2 separate regions of the Homo sapiens genome follow, and region 1 is linked to region 2. Evidence: promoter capture Hi-C in human tissues and cell types (Jung and others, 2019). All regions are on one chromosome and are shown on one strand. Each heading gives the region's core, a stretch centred on a gene start or on the middle of the fragment in contact. The rest is flanking DNA. Distances are from core to core; before and after follow the strand shown.

Evidence for each region. Contacts are between HindIII fragments. The study calls those that stand out against the background at their distance.
Region 1: a fragment that was not itself captured here is called in contact with the fragment with the promoter of ERAP2 in region 2 in 1 of the 25 tissues and cell types used here (heart left ventricle).

The regions. Positions count from the first base shown.
Region 1 is chr5:96,831,263-96,837,137 of GRCh38, forward strand. It overlaps a transcript of ERAP1 not described here. Among named protein-coding and RNA genes, the nearest start is that of ERAP1, 26 kb to the left of the region's middle. RefSeq lists a silencer at 4,717-4,766 and an enhancer at 5,764-5,875. The HindIII fragment of the contact is 4,045 bases long and covers 807-4,851 here.
Region 2 is chr5:96,872,651-96,879,055 of GRCh38, forward strand. ERAP2 (endoplasmic reticulum aminopeptidase 2) reads left to right here and starts at 3,850. Exons shown (of 19, transcript NM_022350.5): 1 at 3,850-3,877. It also overlaps a transcript of ERAP1 not described here. RefSeq lists enhancers at 3,489-3,618, 3,639-3,788, 3,959-4,168, 4,539-4,748. The HindIII fragment of the contact is 2,321 bases long and covers 1,758-4,078 here.

The sequences.
Region 1 (5,875 bases), core at 1,579-4,078, 42 kb before region 2:
ACTATCACCATAACAGCACTGAGGGGAAGGTGCTAACACATTCATGAGAACTCTGCCCCCATGATCCAATCACCTCCCACCAGGCCCCACCTCCAACACTGGGGATTACAATTTGACATGAGAGTTGGTGGGGATGCACATCCAAATCATATCACTGGCAAATACTGTATTTTCCATCCACGCACAGGAGGACTTGTGTCCTTCAGCCCATGATGTTCAAGGGCCAACTGTATAGTATGACTTATTTTGGAAAAGGGAAAGAGCACGTTCCTTTAATTAATTATAAGGCCAACCTGCAGTTTGTGCAAAAGCTACTTTCCTCCCAGGTTTATCAATACTCCTGGGATACAATCCCCAAGGGTCTTATCCATAGCATCTCTCAAAGTCAATTAGATATAGTCTAATGTGCCCTTTTCTCTGCCATCAGTCCTAGGAATAGCATCTGTCTGGCTGGGAAATGCTGCTATTTCTTCCTGCAGAATCCAGGCTTAGCAGGGGTAGAAGCAAAACATGGTGAAGTAGAGAAGCAGCTAGCCCACGTCTTTCCCTCTTTCCATTTCTCTAGCCCTCTGCCTTGCCCATTGCAGACTTTGCTGCTGTGGTGGGCTTGAGCTGGGTTGAGAAGACCTTTAACTTTGAATACAGTCAGAGATTTTTATTATTACAGTAAACTGGACATATTGACTACCACAGTGACAGTATTTTGAGATAAAGTAATTAGAACTTTTTATTGTTTCTGAATAATGAGAGAAAATTATGGAAGCTGCTTGTGATTTTATCTAAGAGATGGGGAAATCCTGGCTTCACAGAATGGGTCTGAGTGTGCCAGAACCATGCAGGGGGAGTAAACTCGCTGAAACAAGAGTCCTACCTAACATACCAATTTTACAATAATTAGGTACAGAAACAGACTCACTATATTAACGGAAGCTCTCTATTCACTCTGTAAAACATATTGACTGGTATCAAAGCAAACTTTGCTCCTGGTGTATGATAGAACTTCTGTCCCCTGAGATGAATGCTGGCCAGGAGGCAGTTACATTTGTTCCAAACCTGACTTGCCAGTTGTATTCTTTAGGTAGTTACTTAAGTTAATAAAATGTTATTAAATCAATGGGTAGAATAGAATGTTGCACCTATGAACACCAAGTCGAATATTTTGGAAAGTCTTGATTAAATTGAGTGGAATTGGGGGTATATATAATAGCTGCAAAAGACTGAGAAAAGTTGTAAAAATATAGAAGAACTACACATTCAGATTTTTCCACAAATGTCTTTAAAGTCTTCCTTTGAAATGAGGAATGCATAAAATTAAAGGATTTGAAAAAATTCTTTCTGGGCCCCTTCCAGCTTGTGTTATTTTATGACTTTTATCCTTGAAAATATTTAATCATCTTTATAAACATGAACAGGATTTGTAAAATGTATTTAAGTCTCTGAAAATGTGCTATAAGTAGCAGATATCATTGTACGTACAAAGAGACAGTGATGCTACAAATATCTTCGATTTTATCGATGTTCTTCCACACTGCTTGAATTGCATTCATGATCCCTTTGGGCTGATGTCATGGACTGAATGTTTGTGTCTCCTGAAAATTTATGTGATAAAATTTAGCACCCAATGTGATGATATTAGAAGATGGGGCCTTTGAGACTAATTAGGTCATGAAGGTGGAGCCATCGTGAATGAAATTAGTGCCCATATAAAAGGGATCCCGGGGAGTAATCCTGCTCTCTTTCTGCCACCTGAGGATACAAGAATTCATCAGTCTACAACCTGGAAGAGGTCTCAGCCATGCTGATGCCTTAATTTTGAACTTTTAGCCTCCAGAACTGTGAGAAATAAATTTCTGTTTTTTATAAGCCACCCAAAATACGCTACTTTGTTACAGCAGCCTAAACTGAGATAGCTGATAAATTTGGAGACCAATATTTAGACAGAAACTGAAATTATTAATTACATTATTCAATCTGCCAAAGGTGACACTTTAGGATTGCTGTTGTCCAGCTGCAAATCTCTTTGTGTTCCATTATGCTTCTCCAGTGGATGGGGTCTTGAGCTTCATGAGTAAAAGATGTTCATTACACCTTCTGTGCTTTGATCATATAAATATTTCTCAACAGGTTATTTTTGGAAATGTATGTTTGTTTACTGATATCAAAAGGGTTTTTTGTATGTGGTTATATTGGTGATCAAAATGGTGTCAAGATAAAAATGAACTATTTTGAAGGACATATATATTCTCAATCATAAAGTCAATTCAAAATGTTGGTTCATTGAGGTTCTCCTATATACAGATCACTATTTTAGGGAGTGGGAAGACATGAAAATAAATAGAATTTAGTCACATGGTTCCTGACCTCACCTTGTGTAAAAAAATAGCAATTAGCCGAGCATGGTGGTGCGTGCCTGTAATCCCAGCTACTTGGGAGGCTGAGGCAGGGGAATCGCTTGAACCCGGGAGGCGGAGGTTGCAGTGAACCAAGATTGCACCACTGCACTCCAGCCTGGCGACAGAGCAAGGCTCGGAAAAAAAAAAAAAAGAAAAGAAAAAGAAGATAGCATGTGAATTCTGACAGGATTTTCTTTCCTTCAGGTTCAGCCCTCCATGTGTCTTCTGATTTTCCTGTCCACGTATCTTTGTCTTTGTATTCATTAAAAAAATTGAATACTCCCAACTTATTAATGTAGTAGTAATGATCCATTGCTGATTGTACCAAAATGCATGCCAGTTGAAGTAAAGTTGCTAATTGGGTAGCCACAACTAGTTGAAATGAAAAACTGACACTTAAAATGGTAGATATAGCTTCACAGAATGAGAAAGCGGTAGCCTTAATTTGTTAGCATCATCAGATATTTAGTTCCTCAGTAATTCAGTGACTTCCGCAGTTAGTTAAAGCTTTCAGTAAAGAAAAATGTTTTTAAATACCTCTCTCTGCCACAAGAATCTCCTTCTCCAACAAATTAATTTCCTTCTTGCCAAGGTATGTGTGTACTTGTCAACCTTCTCAACTCATGAGTCTGCATTCAGCAGAAGGGGTCCTATTCCAGCTCTCCCACTTACTATTTGTTAGAGTTTGTCAAGCTTTCCAGTCTCAGTTTTCTAATCTTCAGTATAGAATAATAACCCCGACCATAAAGAGCATTGTGCACAATGGGCCTATTATTAATGTTCATTTCTTCTGTGAGTTCAACACAGTGATCAGATCATATCCAATTTGAGGAACTTAAAGTTAACTGCTAAGTTGTGATATGGTAAGTGGAGTCCTGAGTTTGATGTATGTGAACTTATACTGAGACAAAACTTTTACCTGTGGTCTAGTTCACAGTAAAATGAACTACTGGAAGAATAAAAAAAGATTTGAGAACTCAATCAAAATAAAATCAATCCAAATAAATGGTAGTGCAATTTGCTGAGTTTCTTCAATGAAGAAACATACACAATAAACCTGTGAATGTTATCACTGGAAGTGTTTGATGCTGTGGGAAGGAATAACATTTCTATTTCACTGTTATTACTAAATCATAATTGCATGGTGTTTAACCTCTACTGTATAAATCATCTAATGAGGATTCATTTCTATGTAATTTTTTGTTACACAAAGAAACACTGCATAATACTTACCCAGTAATAGGCAGTTTTTTAGACCCATTGAATCAAAATCTGATTTGGGGACTGTAAATTTACATTTTAAAGAAACACCCACATGATTCTTAGGCACACAACCGACTGAGAACCACCAGGATGAGGGCCTTTAGTATTTGTTGTGTGCTGTCCCTTTCCACATTTCAAAGAATACTAAGGGGCTGTTAGGCGTGTACTAGTGGCTGAGAAGTTTGCTTTCACAGTAAAGAAGGTAACACCATGACACTGTCTGTGGCTTAAGATAAAATTATGATATTTCTTGAGAAAGACAAAACTCTGCTGTTGACTGTCCTAGAAGGCTAAAAGGATAATTGGAGTTGTCGAGCTGGTTATGACCAAAGCTGCTTTAGAACTTCTTTGGAGTTTGAGTGATCCTTGCCACATGGTGAGATCTTCAGGGACCTGTCAAGTTCCTGACAAGAACTTGATTGAGGACAAGACACTGCTCCTTTAAGCCACATGAATTGCTACAAGGATCTTAAAATACACAAATGAAGACCAGGTAGAAGCTCAGATGCTGGTCTCAAATTCCAACCCTGTTGTCAGGATTTTCTGTCATATATCTTTTTAAAAACAACAAAGTAGAACATCCTTACATGTAGGGAAGTTTATTTGTACGAAATGATGTTAAAAAAAATTCCAGGTGCTTTTTAAAACAATTATTGCTGATTGTTTTGTTGTATATTAATAATACCTCTATGTGTTTGATTTTAAGTCTAAGTTTACAGTGTGTTTTCCTTCTGTATAACCATGTTTTACTGTACTATCATAACAAATTTACAGTTGTACAAACATGAATAAATCCTTCAAAAAGCCAGCAGTACGAAGGCTCACAAGTCGGAAAGGCCCATCCTACTTAGTAGGTACTACAAACTTTATCAACTGGAGCAGGGTCTTCAAAAGGAGGGGTTGGACCTCTGGGAAACCACAGAGGCTTTCCAAGGGACACCCAGGCAGACAGGTGGTTCTAACAGGGCATCAATTTCCTGAATTTCAACTGCAGGCATACTCTATCCAAACATGATCTGAGAACACTCTTGTGGTTTTAAGGTTATATGGGACCTCCGTTTCACCTTTGCTTTCACTTGACAAAAGAAGGAACAACTTCTCTCCATGGTTAATACTACTATGATACAATTTCTGAGATGAGAAACCTGCATGAGTCAGAGAGAAATGTGAAATAATATTTCTGGTATTGAAAAAATGAATGCCTTCAATGACCGGAAAACAAATCCTTTTACATTTCAGGGATTTTCCACCTCTTTGGTTTTTTTTTTTTTTTTTTTTCTGTTTTTTGTTTGTTTGTTTTCAAGACAGAGTCTCACTCTGTCACCCAGACTGGAGTGCAGTGGTGCAATCTGGGCTCACTGCAACCTCTACGTCCTGGATTCAAGCAGTTCTTCTGCCTCAGCCTCCCAAGTAGCTGGGACTACAGGCCTGAGCCACCACACCTAGCTAATTTTTGTATTTTTAGTAGAGACAGGGTTTCACCATGTTGGCCAGGCTGGTCTCGAACTCCTGACCTCAAGTGATCCCCCCACTTCAGCCTCCCAAAGTGCTGGGATTACAGGCGTGAGCCACCACGCCTGGTCCACATCTTTGGTTTTAACAAAATTAAAGGGAGACCTAACTAGTAGATCATTAAAAATACTTTTTGATGATAGGTCACTATGTGATTTTTGGCATATTAGTGGCAAGGAGTTCAAATAATTGAGTGACATTGCTAAAACAAAACTCATTTCATCCCCAACCACCAACTAATATAAATAAGATTCCTTAGCACTTACATAAAAATAATTTAAAATAGGAATAAAACTGATGCTGAATCCCAACTTATTCTAGCAATAAAGAGCCATATGTGGATGCATCCATTGAAAAGCAGGCCTCATTCTTCTCCTTAAAAGATACGTCATGTTAAATAATGTATCAAAATGTGTAATGTACTTACCTTGTTTTGATTAATTGGGTATCAATAAAAATTATAATGATAATGCAAATCAGAAGATTTTTTAAATAGTTAAGCCTTGAGGTCACTGAAAATTAAATTTTTATTTATATTTCAATTTTCATACATATTTCTGTTTCAAAAAATTATGATGTCATAAGGACTTTCAATCAAAATATATTAGGCTAAAATTTGGGAGAGAAAATGAATTGGAGAGGAAGGAGGAACTTCTAACTATTTAAAAAAGAACATGTTCATCTTTTTAGTGTAGATATGTAGGCAT
Region 2 (6,405 bases), core at 2,600-5,099:
GTTTACAAAACATTTATGAATTGTCTTTCATATATTTTCCCTAATTGATTCTCGGATTGACAATAATCCTCTGTAGCAAAGTATCATTGTGTCTAATTTGGAGATGAGGAAGTGAATTATTTTAAGAAGATGTTTCAATTCTCTTGATCCTAGGTTCAGTTTATAATTTTTTAAAAAATGAAGTCATTAAGATTTAAATCTGTTGAGAACACCCTAAGAGGATAGAAACATATGTAATATATTTAATAGAAATTCTCGGCTGGGTGCGGTGGCTCATGCCTGTAATCCCAGCACTTTGGGAGGCCAAGGTGGGTGGATCACCTGAGGTTAGGAGTTTGAGACAGGCTGACCAACATGGTGAAACCCCGTCTCTACTAAAAATACAAAAATTAGCCAGGCATGGTGGTGGGCGCCTGTAATCCTAGCTACCTGGGAGGCTGAGGCACAAGAATCACTTGAACCCAGGAGGCGGAGGTTGCAGTGAGCAGAGATTGTGCCACCGCACTCCAGCCTGGGTGACAGAGTGAGACTTTGTCAAAAAAAAAAAATCATGAAAATTCGTGAAATCTTTAAAATATTTTGACAATAAAGTCTCATCTCTTTGGAAAATTCACTGTTAACTCATTCATTCTCACCTGTTTGTTGAGGGCCTATGATGTGCGCAACACTGATAGGTGCTAGAAAGAGGTGGAATCCTGGTGCGTGGTCCATTGCCTGAAGTTGATAATCTGAGGAAGAAAACGAAACACAAACTTGTTAGCCTCAGATGAGTGCCAGTAGACCTACTAAACAAATGCCTGTAGTTTGGGACTGGAAAGGAAGCATGTGTTACTTCCAAAGTGGCTTCTTGGGGCTGGCATTTACCTTGTGGTAGGTGGTTTACACAGGGGACACTCTGAGTGTTCCATAGACACTCTAGGTCAATGGAGAGGAAGGTGCAGAAAAGCTGAGGAAACACTTGGCTCATCCAGAAGTGGAAAGCACCCTGATGTGCTTGAAGCATGAAGCAAGTGTTGGGCAATCTAAGGAAAAACAAAAAACAAAAACAAAAACTAAAACACTGAAAATGCATTCACCCACTCAACTAACATTTGTTGAGGGTCTCTTATATGGCAGGCTCTGCTCTATACTGGGCACTCAGCAGTTAGAGGGCAGAGTTGCTACTGCAAAAAGCTTATGTTCTAGTGAGGAGACAAGAAAACAAACAAACAACTACATAATGAAGTATAAGGAACTGACCAAAGCTAAGAAGAAACAAAAAGCAGGCTGACAGGATAGGCCTTGGTGATGGTGGATTTAGGGAGGAGTGGTACTGCCTTAGAGCCAACAAGGAGGGTCTCTCTGAGTAAGAGACAATTCAGAGACCAGGATGAAATGGAAAACTGAGACATGAATTCCCTAAGCAATAAACTTCCCAAAGCTTATCCCAAAGAAAAGAGAAGAGAAAAGAAAAAAAAAAGAAGGAAGGAAAGAAAGAAAGAGAGAGAGAAAGAAAGAAAGAAAGAAAGAAAGAAAGAAAGAAAGAAAGAAAGAGAGAGAGAAAGAAGAAAGAAAAGAAAAGTTAGGAGCCCATTTTGCTGAGAAACTCTTTTAAATAAGCTACAAGTACTTGAATCTGGCTCAATTTTCACTTCTAGGATTCTGCAGCTCAATTCCATAGCCTGTTTCTTCATTCTCCATCACCACTTCTGTTCCAGTGGGCAGGAGAGAGCTCTGAAAACACACATGCACTCGCCCACATACCCACAGCTAGGCTGGATCTTGTGACAAGGAATATCACAGAAATACTCCCAGCCTCCTATACCTCTTCTACCTGCCCCCACGCCCTGCAGAGTTAGAGTCCGTAGATAAGCCCTTGGGGCCTCCTCTTCTTTGTCGTCTTTGTCCCCTTCTTTTTCCCACTCACTGGCTTCCAGCCATCCCCCTTCCTGTGGTGCCCCTCTCACTACATGAAATGCAGCTCTGAGGGACCCCATTCAGTCTTATGTTTCGGGCCTTAGGTGTAGGCTACTGCCTTCCTTTCTGCCCCTTCTACTTTATCGACTTGTTCTTTCAGGTTGAAATAATAAAATGTAGAAAGGTGGAAAAATTAAAGCTTGAGACTTAACTAGGATCTAATCATGGCAACATGTGCTATTGGGCCAAACATAGGTTGCAAACACAAACCACAGCAGGACAAGGCACATGATACAAGTCTATGAAGAGTGTCTGCAACATGATAAGAGCTAAGCTTGTTATATTTCACTTGACAATAGAAATTGTATGGATGTATTGCCATTTAATAGACTGTGATTCAAACAAAACAACTATAGGCTGGCATATAGGCTGCCAGTAGGCCACTATGGTTCCCACACTAGGACTTGCCCCTCTGTAAATGGGGAAATCAAGGAAAGATCTTGAGCAGTGGGGGAGGCATGGTCGAGCAGTAGTTGAAAGGATTAATCTGGTGGCATCGTACAAGTAACTGCAAGAAGCTGAGCTTGAGAAGCTGGGAAGACATGATTGAAGGCCATTGTGAGGAAGGATGAGGACCTGGACTACTTTAATAAGCGGTGGGATTTTTTCTTAGTTGGATAGAAAGAGATTGAAAATGATTCAAAAAGGCCAGTTGCGGTGTCTCATGCCTGTAATCCCAATCCTTTGGGAGGCTGAGGCAGAAGGATCACTTGAGCCTAGGAGTTTGAGACCAGCCTGAGCAACATGGGAAGACCTCATCTATAAAAAAAAAATAATAAATTAGCTGGGTGTAGTGGTGGATGCCTGTAGCCCCAGCTACTTGGGAGGCTGAGGTGGGAGGATCATTTGAGCTCAGGAAGTCAAGGCTGCAGTGAGCTGGGATGGCACCACTGCACTCCAACCTGGGTGACAGAGTGAGACCCTATCTCAAAAAAAAAAAAAAGAAAAGAAAAGGAAAAATCAACAGGCTTTGGTAACAAATTGGAGAGGGACAGAATCAAAGTAACTAACTATATGGTTCAATCCTAGATAATGGAAGAAGGCTGGAAGCATATAAAGCAAAGGGTGTTTATCTGGGGAAAGAAAACACTATTTGAGTTGTCAGGGTTCTGGTTCAGGTTAGGGTTAGACATCCATGTACTGTTGGTCCATCAGGCTGTTGGAATTACAGCAGCAGAACCCTTGAAGGAGGGATCACAATGGGAGCAATGTGGGATGAATGGGGATAAATGCTAAATCTGGGTACTGGAAAGGATAAAGAGAGGGCAGAGCAAAGGCCAGAGGTTTCATCTTTGTGGAAGGTCTGTATTCAGAGCAGAGAGGAAGTTGAAGCCCAACTCAAACAGGCAGATAAAGAGAGATCAAAGAGATGAGCATGAGATACAGTCCCCTCGTGCCCAAGGAGACAGGGTGGTTACAGACATGGAAAATCTGAGAATAATCACCTCTGATAAAGATCACAGAAGCTGCCCGGGAGGTGTTTGGTAAGCTTGGAGTTACGTTTGTGGGGTGGATGGGCAGAAGTCAGATTTCATAGCACTGAGGATGCAGCACAAGGAGAAGTTCAAGATCAATTCCTAAGACAACAACTTGGCACTAAAAAACATAAACTATGTTCTGAAGGCTTTACCCTGGGGACAAGGGAAGGGAGGTGATAACAGCAGAAGTGGCAGCCACTGGCGATCCTTTCTTTCCATGGTTTGGCTTCTACTCCAAAGCCACTTATTTGTGCATTCTACAAAAAGTTTCTTGTCCTTTTTGAAATAAAGCTCTTATCCTAAGCTCCATTCACACCTGCGTGATAATGAACCAGCTAGTACTTACTGTACTCAGGAAGCATGCAAAGTTCTGAATCTTAGAACAGAAAGTGAAAGCAAAAGTAAATTCCCCTTCAGTCAAATCTGCAGCAGCATGATTTAAGGTAACGTATCAACATTTCTCTTGGGTTTGTCTTAAAATTAGATTTTTTCAATAAGAATAATGAACTGAAGGTATAGAACTGCTGTGTTGAGAAGGTTTTGTAATCTAAGGCAAGGTTCTGGGGGACTGGGGTGAATTGGGCGCGGCTGTATTAGAAAGTGTATGCAGTTGAGGCTGGGACTTGATCTAAGACGCTGCTGCACTGACTCTCTTTCAGAGATCTTTTTGTCTTTTCTAAGCGTTTGTGACAATTCTTGCCTCTTCAATCCCAGGATGTTTTGTTCACTGCATTGCTATTTAAGGTACAGTGCAGTATAATAGAAAGCCCACCAGACCAAAGGGCAAAGAGCTATGTTTTAGTCCTGATTCTGTTTCAGACTTCCTGTGTGGATTTTGAGAAGTCACCATCCTGTTCCTTCATCTGTTTATTTAATTTAATTTATGTATTTATTTATTTATTTATTTTGAGAGAGAGCCTCGCTCTGTCGCCCAGGCTGGAGTGCAGCAGCACGATCTCGGCTCACTGCAACTTCCACCTCCCTGGTTCAAGCGATTCTCGTGCCTCAGCCTCCCGAGTAGCTAGGACTACGGGCATGTGCCACCATGCCCGGCTAATTTTTGTATTTTTAGTAGAGGTAGGGTTTCACCATGTTGGTGAGGCTGGTCTCGAATTCCTGACCTCAGGTGATCTGCCCACCTTGGCCTCCCAAAATGCTGGCATTACAGACCTGAGTCACTGTGCCCGGTCCTGTTTCTTTATCTGAACACTAAGGACTTGTACTAGCTGGCCTTTACAACCCTTACTAGTTCTAAAGTTAAAGACTGTGTGAGTAAAGCTTTTCTCTCTACTCTTATCAATCAAGTACATCTCTAGGAGTGTCTGCTACAAGTGGGGGCGAGCTACTCCTTCATTTTGGCCATTGAATGCAAGTTATAACCTCAATAATAATTTCATATCCAACACTAATTACTTACTTCCTATATGCTCCATGCTGTGCTGTGCCAACTTCTTCACATGAATTATTTCATTTAATCATCCCAGCATGAGGAAGGTATAATTATTACACTGTTTTATGGTTGAGATAAATGAAGCTCAAAAAGTAAAAAACTTTGCCCATGATCACGTAGGTGAGGTTGGTGGAATTAGCGTTGGAATCTGGGCACTCTGATTCCAAAGCCTCAGACCCACATAATAAGCCACTCCATTTTTTTTAAACCCTCCAAAATTCAAGCTAATAGACCAATTATGAGTGTACTTATCAGACGTTCTTGGAACACTGAGATTTGTAGCAGTAATTTAATGCTTGTTTTTAAAAAGAGGGAGAAGTATCTTTAATATTATTTTATTTTTGTTCCTTTAACAATACCTGTCACCTGCATTAATATTGCAAATTGAAAAATTGAAGTAATTGTTTGGATAATTAATGCTGCAGAACTTGTTAAGGATTATAAAAAGAAGAAGTAGCAGAGAAAACCTTCATGGTTTGAGTTGGAGCAGTAAGGAAGTAAGTAGAGGCAGGTGGTAGGGTGGCAGTAAGAATTGATTCCCCCAAATTAACTATGCTGTTTGTCCTAATTTTATATGTGTTGTAGCTTTACCCTTCAAAAAGAAAGAAACTTAGTTCTATTTACAAAGGTAGTAAATTCAGTTTGATTTAATTGTGCTTTCAAAAGTAGTGTAAAGGGAAAAGAACCGAACCTTAAAAAAATTCTGTAAGAATATTATAAACTCAAAATTTATTTCCATGGCTTTTGACATATTGAAAATAAACTGGGGATAAATACCTACCTTGACCAGCAACCTTTACACCAGTAGCCATAAAATGAGGCCATTCAGATAATGTTATTGAAAGAGGTGAAGTTCAATGCCATTCGTAGTAATAATAATATCTGGTATCCAAAGAATATAGAATATATATATAGAATATTCTTTGTGACTTATGAAGACAAAATAGAGACATCTTGCACAGTTTACTTTCAGGCATACACTTAAAATTACATGTGTGCCTGTGGTTCCAGCTAATTGGGAGGCTGAGACATCAGGATTGCTTGACCCCAGGAATTTGAGGCCAGCCTGGGCAACATGGTGACACATTGTCTTTCAAAAAAAATAAAATATGGCCAGGCGCAGTGACCCACGCCTGTGATCTCAGCACTTTGGGAGGCTGAGGCAAGTGGATCACCTGAGGTCAGGAGTTCGAGACTAGCCAGGCCAACATGGTGAAACCCCGTCTCTACTAAAAATACAAAAATTAGCTGGGTGTGGTGGCACATACCTGTAATCCCAGCTACTCGGGAGGCTGAGGGAGAAGAATCACTTGAACCCCAGAGGCAGAGGTTGCAGTGAGCCAAGATAGTGCCACTGCATTCCAACCTGGACAACAGCGAGATTCCGTCTCAAAAACATAAATAAATGAATAAAAATAAAGTAGGCTGGTCACAGTGGCTCACGCTTGTAATCCCAACAGTTTGGGAGGATTGCTTGAGTTTAGGAGTTTGAGACCAGCCTGGGTAACAGGGAGACCCCCA